Linked DNA regions of Homo sapiens: region 1 is linked to region 2. The links are contacts of gene promoters, found by promoter capture Hi-C in human tissues and cell types (Jung and others, 2019). All regions are on one chromosome and are shown on one strand. The core of a region is centred on a gene start or on the middle of the fragment in contact, and the rest is flanking DNA. Distances in the headings are between cores, read along the strand shown.

Region 1 (5,466 bases), core at 1,479-3,978, 250 kb before region 2:
ATTTAGCTTTGTACTGTAGGTTCTAATCAGTGCCATAAGGCAAACAAATTTTTTTAAAAAAGGAAAGGCATATTAAGAAATAAAACTATTCACAGATGACATGACTATGATGTAGGAAATCGAAAATAATCCACTTCTTTTTAATCAGCTTTATTCTATAGAGGAGAGGGTATATGGGACACAGCCCAGATGTTTATGGGCAGAAGGTTTAAAAAAGTACAGATACATTATCTAGTAGCTGTAAATCTTAAGATAATGAATTCAACAAGTACCCAGAGAGAAAATGGGTATTATGGATGTCATAGAATAAAAAACAGATATGGTATCTAAAGAGCAGCATTTAACACAATCCCCCTCTGTCATGTTTCTTTACGACTTCTAATTTATGCCTCATATCAGTTAGGAAAGCTTTCAGCTGCAAGTAACAGCAAATCAATTAAGAGTAACTTTAAGAAAACAACATATCTGAAAAGGTGTTCATTCTGCTCCTAATATAATTTAATAATAAGTATCACATATCTAGGCACTCTGCTGTGTCATTCTTAGGATGTTTTACATGTCCCCTCATGCTACTGCTCCAGGTGTTATGCCTGTGTTTACATCAGGAAGGAGGAGAAAGTGGTGGCAGTGGTGACATTTGTTCCTTTGATTAAGAAAGGAACACTTTTGCAAGTTTTCCAGCAGATTTCCGCTTCTGTCCCACAGGCCAAAGGAGGCTGATACAATTTATGGTAAGGGAGATCAGAATTGTCCCATGCATTGCAGGACATCTAGCATCCCTGATCCTGCCTCCTAAAATACTAATGCCTCCCAGGTATTGAAATAAATAAAAATGTCCCCTCTACATCTACGAATACTCTCAGTGGAAGGGGGATACTACTACCCCTTGAGAACCAGTGTGCCATTAGTGGTTTATCACCTGGGGCTGGGTACATTGCTGCCACTAATCTAGCTAAGATTATCTTAGCGAAGAATAAGGGAGGGAATGTCTGCTATTCCACCCACCCTGCTTTAATTCTTTGCCCTTAAGTGAAGTTGGGAGAGATGAGGTTTGGTAAAAATGTGGGGAGGGAGGATGTGTTGGGAGTGATGGTGTGTCTGGAATTGGTGGGTTCTTGGTCTCACTGACTTTAAGAATGAAGCCGCGGACCCTCACGGTGAGTTACAGCTCCTAAGGTGGCACGTCTGGAGTTTGCTCCTTCTGACGTTCGGATGTGTTCGGAGTTTCTTCCTTCTGGTGGGTTCGTGGTCTCGCTGGCTCAGGAGTGAAGCTGCAGACCTTCATGGTGAGTGTTACAGCTCTTAAGGCAGCACGTCTGGAGTTGTTTGTTCCTCCCGGTGGGCTCGTGGTCTTGCTGGCTTCAGGAGTGAAGCTGCAGACCTTCGAGGTGAGTGTTACAGCTCATAAAAGCAGTGTGGACCCAAAGAGTGAGCAGTGGCAAAATTTATTGCAAAGAGGAAAAACAAAGCTTCCACAGTGTGGAAGGGGACTTGAGCGGGTTGCCACTGCTGGCTCGAACAGCCTGCTTTTATTGTCTTATCTGGCCCCACCCACATCCTGCTGATTGGTAGAGCGGAGTAGTCTGTTTTGACAGGGTGCTGATTGGTGCGTTTACAATCCCTGAGCTAGACATAAAGGTTCTCCATGTCCCCACCAGATTAGATAGATACAGAGTGTGGACACAAAGGTTCTCCAAGGCCCCACCAGAGTAGCTAGATACAGAGTGTCGATTGGTGCATTCACAAACCCTGAGCTAGACACAGGGTGCTGATTGGTGCGTTTACAAACCTTGAGCTAGATACAGAGTGCCGATTGGTGTATTTACAATCCCTGAGCTAGACATAAAGGTTCTCTACGGCCCCACCAGAGTATCTAGATACAGAGTGTTGATTGGTGCATTCACAGACCCTGAGCTAGACACAGGGTGCTGATTGGTGTTTACAAACCTTGAGCTAGATAGAGAGTGCCGATTGGTGTACTTACAATCCCTGGGCTAGACATAAAGGTTCTCCACGTCCCCACCAGACTCAGGAGTCCAGCTGGCTTCACCCAGTGGATCCTGCACTGGGGACTGCAGGTGGAGCTGCCTGCCAGTCCTGGTGCCGTGCGCCTGCACTCCTCAGCCCTTGGGTGGTCGATGGGACTGGGTGCTGTGGAGCAGGGGGCGGTGCTCATCGGGGAGGCTCGGGCCGCACAGGAGTCCACGGAGTGGGTGGGAGGCTCAGGCATGGCGGGCTGCAGGTCCCGAGCCCTGCCCCGCAGGAAGGCAGCTAAGGCCCGGCGAGAAATCAAGCACAGCGCCGGTGGGCTGGCACTGCTGGGGGACCCAGTACACCCTATGCAGCCACTGGCCTGGGTGCTAAGCCCCTCATTGCCCGGGGCTGGCAGGGCCGGCCCGCTGCTCGGAATGCGGGGCCCGCCAAGCCCATGCCCACTCGGAACTCCAGCTGGCCCGCAAGCGCGGCGCGCAGCCCCGGTTCCCGCTGGCGCCTCTCCCTCCACACCTGCCTGCAAGCTGAGGGAGCCGGCTCTGGCCTTGGCCAGCCCAGAAAGGGGCTCCCACAGTGCAGCGGTGGGCTGAAGGGCTCAAGTGCCGCCAAAGTGGGAGCCCAGGCAGAGGAGGCGCCAAGAGCGAGCAAGGGCTCTGAGGACTGCAGCACGCTGTCACTTCTCAATGGGGTGAGGGAGACAGAAATAGACCCGGAAGAGAAGAGGGAAGGACAAAGCCAAAGAGATGCCAAACTGCATTTGGTGTTGCTCACTGTGGCCCAGAGAAGTTTGATGGCAGTGCTGGAGAACCAAGAGGAGAAGCAAGGCAAAGGGGCATGGCGTGGGAGAGATTACCTAGGATAGGCTGAATGGCTGTTCTCCCTCAAACTGGCCATGCCCTCTTTTGCTTTCCACCTCCTACAGTCCAAATTACTAGCCACTTTCACACGTTTTCCTTATTTCTAAAGCTTAACCAAAATTACCTAAAAGCCACTGTACCCCATACATATTTCAGTCACTGTGCTGACTACATTGTCATATAATCAATCATCTGCCTGTATCCTTAATCAGAATGAGATCTTTAGGAAGTCTTATTCCTCTTTGATAGATGGTGCAACTAATGTTTGTTGAATGAAGAAAGAATGGATGGAAGGGCAAGGAGGAAGAGGGGAGAAACTAAACCACCTACTTTATAGTCTCTGGTATTCTCATTCCAATCAGTTCAATACAGACTAGTTGGAATCTTTTGTTTTAAATTCTTAAAAGATTACGTACCATACATATTCCTGACTTTAAGCACTCTCTTTGAGCTTCCCACCTCCCACCTCCAGTTTTTTTGTTTTTTTGTTTTTTGTTTTTTTTTTTTTTTGAGACGGAGTCTCACTCTGGCCCCAGGCTGGAGTGCAGTAGTGAGATCTCAGCTCACTGCAAGCTCCGCCTCCCGGGTTCACGCCATTCTCCTGCCTCAGCCTCCCGAATAGCTGGGACTACAGGCGCCCGCCACCACGCCCGGCTAATTTTTTGTATTTTTAGTAGAGACAGGGTTTCACCGTGTTAGCCAGGATGGCCCACCTCCAATTCTTATACAGCCTCTCGTATCTCTTGTTAGGCCCTGCTGCTTATACACTTGTGGTCTTTGATACCTTTCAGATTTCCCATTCCATGCCAGAATATGTCCTTTTCCTTATGCTTCTTGGGCAGTTATGTACTTCAGTACCCTGAATCTCCATGAGTTGTGCCTATTTAAAAAAATACCATATGCTTGGAATTTATCTCTTTATCTTACTGGTTTCATGGAAAATCAGGATTCTGCAATGAATTTTAAAGTTAGCCAATTTGAGTCATTTTATTATACTTAAAAAGGAACTTTTTTACAAGAAGGAATGCCTTTAGTTATGTTCCTAATTCTCAGTGTGTATAGTTTTGTCAGCTTAAGTAGAACCAGATCACCAAAGTCATAGTGGGTTAATCTTCATAAGGTTGAAAGATCAACCTTTAGCAAACCTAGTTTGCAACTTGAAGAAATTCTGTCTTATACAACCGACATAATCTCAAGGTTACAAGTCAGCGACTGTTGTAAGTATTTAAAGCTAACCTTAAAACATTAGAGAAAAGCTTTTTACCCTTCTTAATAAACAGATAATGACATGAACTCAATATAGATTTACATTATATGTGTATAGTAACTAGTAAGTATATATTTGCCAGCATTCTTTCATGTATTCCAAACAAAGCCAAATGGTTGATCTAGTGTTGGCTTTTTTTTTTTTTTTTTTTAAAGACAGAGTCTAGCTTTGTTGCCCAAGCTGGAGTGCAGTGGCACAATCTCAGCTCACTGCAACCTCTACCTCCCGGGCTCAAGCAATTCTCCTGCCTCAGCTTCCTGAGTACCTGGGATTACAGGCATGTGCCACTGTGTCTGGCTTATTTTTGTATTTTTAGTAGAGACAGAATTTCACTATGTTGGCTGGGCTGGTCTCGAACTCCTGGCCTCAAGTGATCTGCCTGCCTCAGCCTCCCAAAGTGCTGGGATTATACGCATGAGCCATCGTGCCTGACCTAGTGTTTGCATTTGCAAAAACACTATAAAAGTTTAAGGCATCTGGTCTCAGTTTTTAATTATGAAAAAGTCCATAAGTATATAACACACACATATAAAGAAAAAACATCCTGTATTTTACCACCCAGTTTAGGAAATAGCCAATTTAATTTTAATCAAAGCTGAATTAAAGATATTTGAGATTTATATTTTTAATTTGATATCACATTTTCAAAACTTTTCTGTATCACTTTTTAAATGGGTACTGATTCACTCCTTCCCCATTTATATGTGATTTAGAGTTTATTCAGTGCTTTCAGATGCATTATTTCACTTAGTGTCCACAGAAACTCCATGAAGTCAGAGTTATAATCCCCATTTTGCAAGTGAGGAGGCCTGAAGCTTGGAACAGTTGACTTGGTCATGCAGCTATTAAATCTCAGAACCAGGACTAGAACCTAGGTTTTCTCATTAACTTTTTTACTATGAGAAAGTTGCAGGGAAGAAAACAATATCATACATTCCCTGGTAAATTGTTAAGGATTCATAATTATAAATGCTTTACCTTTCCAGAATGGTGGTTATAAGGGATGTTTTTGTTTAGCAGGGGACTTCCAGAGACAAAAATATTGAGCTTTTTTAACATTTAAAAAATTAATTACATTTTAATCTTCTAGACGTAATTTCAGGTACCATGAACCTGTGAGGGAGACACTTTTAATTAAAAGAGCAAGTGGTCCTTTCCAGAGTTGCCTAAGTCATACCACAAGCAACCTGTCAGGTCCCGTGCAGGCAGTCTAGGGATTGCAGTAATCCAATCCCTAGATTGGCTGCATTCTTGATAAACGCTCATGGTAAGTAAATCAGTGGTTGGAGAATTTAAGACCTAATGGGGGAAAATAGGGAGGCCTTGAATTGGTGTGGGTATGGGGAGGTC
Region 2 (5,174 bases), core at 1-2,500:
CCCCCTATAAACTGTAGACAAAGCCCACCTAGTGGTTTAGAATTAGGGAATTAAAAGGTGGATTTTGTTACTATGCTGTAATTAAGAAATCTTCACAATTCCAGCTTGGGGTGGGGAGGGAGGGGGGTGGTTCAGAATTTATACCTATCAAACTGCTGCAAAAAATTCATTGTATCGGGGTTAGACTGCAAATACTTCTACCCCTCAAAACGAATCTGCAAATTATTTCCCAGATGCTGAGTAAAGAGGTGAGGAGGTTCCAAACTCCAAATCCAGAATGCACCTATTACAGGGCAAAGACTGAAGTTTTCAGGGAAAACACATCACCGATTTTAAAGCTGATTTAATTATATTATTAACTATTCACAGACACCTAATAGCCACATTTGCAACATTCAAGCAACCTTATTTAAGCTAAGAATATCACACTGCCCACAGTTCCATTTCACAATACCGTCTGCCTAAAAACGACAACTTGAACTGAAAACTAATACTAAATCAGAATAACCCTTTTCAATGCCTCCTGCCAATCATTAGGGCAGCGGGATAAGTGAATTGTTAAAGTCTATTGTGCAGCTGCGCTCTCATTCAGTTTCAGAATCTCCCTTGGATATTCGTTCATGCTTGTAGAACCGACCACGCGGTACATTGGGAAACGGTCACATGAACAATGCGTGACTTCCATTGTGCATCAATCCTCCTCTTGTTAGGAGGAAATTAAAAAGTCACATGGACACACGAAAGTACCGAGAAGGCACGCAGCTGAAGATCTGGTAGGGGATGCATGCGGCACCAGCATGGTCGTGGCACCCGAGTGGGAAGTGCAACAAACGCCAACATCTTGTTACTTTTAACGCCTAACTTCCTGCAGCGCTGGAGCAGCCAGCGGCCGCCGGGAAGCCGAGCTCGGCTGCAGCCCTGCGTCGCCGCGCCACGACCCGACCATCCTCTGAGACGCCCGGGACGGGAGCGCCCACCCCCAACCAGGCGCGGACAGACCTCCCGAGCGCAGCCCGGCGGGAACCCGTCAGCGCGGGAACCGGCCTCGAACTCCAGGCGTGGACAGCCGCGAGAAACTGACCTACGCGGTCACCCGGGCTCCCAGAGCTCCCGAGGCGGTGGCCACGACCCCAGGCTTCCCGTCCGCCCGCCCCACGTCGAGGAAGTGGTCGTCACCAACTCTGGCTGGCACTCCCCGAGGACGCTCGAGCCCGCGTAACGTCTGTCTCCGGGACCCGGCGCCGGGACCACGGCGGAGCGCGAGGTGGCGCCGCCCCTCCCCGCAGCCCGCCCCTGGAACGCGCATCCTCCTGGCGAGCTGGCATCCCTCCCGACACGTGACCGCAGCGGGGACACGCCCGTTCCCCGCCCACTCCCCGCCCCTGCCTGGCCTGCCCACGCCCCCGGCCCGCTCCTGTCCCGCCTGGGCCACCGGCGCTGGTTCCAGGTTTTGCCAGCTACTAGGGACGCGTAAAGCCTTCGCGCTCCTCCCACCACACCCCGAGGGAAGAAGTGGCAGGCCTTACCCGGAGACTACAAGGAACCGCCCGTGTGAGCCAGTGGAAGACTCGCGTCCCCAGGCAAAATATAAGTCCTGGGTTAATAGTCTGAAGTCTGTCATTAAGCAATAGGTTATCCAGCTGCCCAGATTTTTTTCTTTTTTGCTTTGGCTGCAACTCGACCCGTGGGAACTTAATTGGCAATGTAAATTAGACAATTTACAAAAAAACACCTCCTTTTACTTTCACCTGTGAAAGGAAGCGCTTAAAATGCCATACAGGTGTAACCATTATAGAATAGATATGCGTGAGACAAGGATTTACAAAATTTCCTCACCTCCTCTCCTCCAGATTCCATGCACAAGGCGTCTAGCTAGAGGAGTTAGCAAATAGTCTATAACGTGAAGGTTCAAACTCTAGTATAATTCCACCGTTTTTGTTTTTTTCTTTTTTTGAGGCAAGGTCTCACTCTGTCTCCCAAGCTGGAGTGTAGTGGCGCGATCTCGGCTCACTGCAGCATCGTCTTCTGGGTTCAAGCGATCCTCCGGCCTCAGCTGGACTACAGGCGGGTAATCAAGGGACTGGGACTACAGGCGCGCCCTGCCGCGCCCGGACAAGTTTTGTATTTTTAGTAGAGACAGACTCTCCCTATGTTGCCCAGGCTGGTCTCCAACTCCTGGGCCTCCCAAAGTGTTGGGATTACAGGCGTGAGTCACCCCTGCAGGCCACAGCTTTGCTTTTTAAAAGCATTTCTGCATAACTAAAAAGACAGGAAATTACGAGCATACGAAAACTGATTTCTGCTTTCCTGAATTTTCTAAATGTATTTAATGAACATGTTCTTTTGCAATGAAAAAGTAATAAATAGGTATCATTTTTAAAAGGACTGTAGTTTTTCCATCAAGTCTAGAAGCATGTATTGAGAACCTATAATAGGCCCTTTTGGTCATTGTGATATGTGTGAAACAGCATATGGCAGATCTTTTGAAATGATGTTTTTGGATACCACAAGCAATCCTGCTGGTGTATCTCAGGCTGGCATCATCTTTTATTAACAAAGCAGGCACTTTACTAGCACAATACTTCAACTGCAAAATGTGTGGTAACTAAAGCAGCTGTATTTGTCTGGAAAAGAAGAAACCTCAGGGCTTACTATCTAAGGATATTGAACCATCTTTTTTTTTTTTTTTGAGATGGAGTTTTACTCTTGTGCAGTGGTGCAATCTCAGCTCACTGCAACCTCTGCCTCCGAGGTTCAAGCGATTCTCCTGCCTCAGCCTCCTAAGTAGCTGGGACTATAGGTGCGTGCCACCATACCCGGCTAACTTTTGTATTTTTAGTAGAGATAGGGTTTCACTATGTTTGTCAGTCTGATCTCAAACTCCTGATCTCAGGTGATCCACCCACTTCAGCCTCCCAAGGTGCTGGGATTATAGGTGTGAGCCACCACACCCAGCCTTGAACCATCTTCATAGCCAAAATAAAACTACCGAAATAATGACAATAATAATTGGCTACTGAAATAATTTTCCATGATTCCATGAAAGCCTTCATTCTCTCTGTGATGATTTAATTACCTAAATTCACAACTTGCACTTTGCAACTCCCTTCTACAGTTTGCAAATGAAAAACAGATTGCAGTCAATAGGAGGATGAAGTAGTAATCACTACAGTTATCAATAAGAGAAGTTCCAATCTTGATAGCATTACTATTTATACTGTATCTTTAAAGGACTTTATTTGGTATTTCCATAAAATATGCAGAAAAGATATCTCATGGGCATTTATATTATTGACGGCTAGTACAGGTAAAATCACCATGATGGCATAACAGAATTCATTATTCTAGAACACTGTGTCTAATGGAACTTTCTGCGATGATAGAAATGTTCTATAATTCTACCTTGTCCAGTACAGTAGCCACTAGCCACATGTGGCTATTGAGTACTTGAAATGTGGCCAGTGTGACTGACGGTTTCAAGTTTTATTTAATTTAAATAGCCACATGTGGATAGCAGTTACCATATTGGGCAGTGCAGTTCTAGAATAACAAAACTATCACTAGATTGTCCCCGTCATATCATACTCTATTTTAAGAAACATTTGGCAGAAGTAGAACCTCTGGAACTAGTTAATAAATATTTTCCTTCATATTCCTTTCTGAGCTTTAGGCAGATAGATATTTTAACTTTGCAGATGCGGCATATTAAAGTAACTAGTAATATAATCCCTACATATATAAGTAGGAATTGCAATGGAAGCTCTGACTGGTTGTGAAATGGATTTGGGAGTATCTAACCCCTGGCCCTGCCATTCCCGGGCCTGCCTGACCCACATTGAAAAGTGAACCGGGTAACTTAAGACTGGGATGGGCTTCATCAGAATTGTTCATTGCCTGGTTCAGACTGGATTCACCTTGGACTCTTTTGTTTCAGGAAACTTAGGAGCCCAAATCTCTCTACTGTCATCCCCCTCCCCGCATTCCAATGACCTCCTTCAGAATGTGATCCTCTTTAGATTGTAGTACCTAATGTCTGGTCCTTGCAGTTTTGTCTCAAGCCTGAGACATCCCAGAATGCACTTAGTGCATTGCATGTTTTAAAAACACTCCCCTGGTGCCAGTGTGACTTTGAAGTGGTGCAGGAACACGCTAAAGGCTTAAGTCTCATTAAAAGGAGGATTTTATGGACTGAGACTTTGGGGAGGGCTTTGGGTAATTACTGCCTGGAATACTGAAAAGTAGGTCAGATGTCATCAGGCGAATGCAGATAAACCATTGAGTTGAGGGAAATGAATCATTCCCTTATACCTACATATGAAAGACTTTGTAGTTACTATTAACTCCAGACCATCAAAGCTATGAGGTCATTGGGAGTTTTTCTCTCTTAAAAGTGGTCTAAATTTGTTATTTGTCATTTGTGCCATTTCACTCAGTTTATTTAATAACAGGAATGAATTGGTATAGTTTCAGATATTAAATTCTTTTGGTCTAGACTTAATTTTGTACCCATCTCTCTTTTCCTGCAGGTATGACACACAGATGTCTAAGCAACTGCCTTCCAGCAGTGATTGATTTTGCTGGTTCCCCACACAAAAAGTTTGGAAGAGACCCTTATGTCTTCTGTAGAGTTTCTTGGTTGTAAGCAGCAAGCACTGGTGCTGGCTAACTTAAGCAAATAAAGAATATATCACTCAGACATCAAAGAAACAGCTGGAAATCTGGCTTGGCAAAGGCCGGATTAGGGCACTCCTGGGGATGTGGGTAGTAGGAATAGTCTATAGTTTTTCCTCAGTGCCAACACTGGGAAAGAATATGTTCCAATTATTTTCATTTTCCTATCCTTTTGTCTTTCTTCAGAAGAAGCAAAGTTGAGAGATAGTCTTTCATAGCTTTTCCCATAAGGTATGTTCTCCTTGGGCAACATTTTCAACTCAACCTTTAGCCCTTAGCTTGCTTTTTCTTTTTTTTTTTCTTTATTTTTTTTATTTTTGAGACGAGGGTCTTGCTCTGTCACCCAGGCTAGAGTACAGTGGCATGATCATGGCTCACTGCAGCCTCAACCTCTCAGGCTCAAGCAGTTCTCCCACCTCAGCCTCCCAAGTAGCTGGGACTACTGGCGCGAGCCACCATGCCCAGCTAACTTTTGTTTATTTTTTATAGAGACAGGGTCACAC

Evidence for each region. Contacts are between HindIII fragments. The study calls those that stand out against the background at their distance.
Region 1: a contact is called between a fragment that was not itself captured here and the fragment with the promoter of OSBPL1A in region 2, in 1 of the 25 tissues and cell types used here (dorsolateral prefrontal cortex).

The regions. Positions count from the first base shown.
Region 1 is chr18:24,147,440-24,152,905 of GRCh38, forward strand. The region is part of intron 3 of CABYR (calcium binding tyrosine phosphorylation regulated); the gene reads left to right. Among named protein-coding and RNA genes, the nearest start is that of CABYR, 11 kb to the left of the region's middle. The HindIII fragment of the contact is 3,580 bases long and covers 939-4,518 here.
Region 2 is chr18:24,396,574-24,401,747 of GRCh38, forward strand. OSBPL1A (oxysterol binding protein like 1A) reads right to left here and starts at 1,251. Exons shown (of 28, transcript NM_080597.4): 1 at 1,082-1,251. LOC124904268 (a long non-coding RNA gene) reads left to right here. Exons shown (of 3, transcript XR_007066314.1): 3 at 4,527-5,174. RefSeq lists a silencer at 1,185-1,314. The HindIII fragment of the contact is 24,691 bases long and covers 1-5,174 here.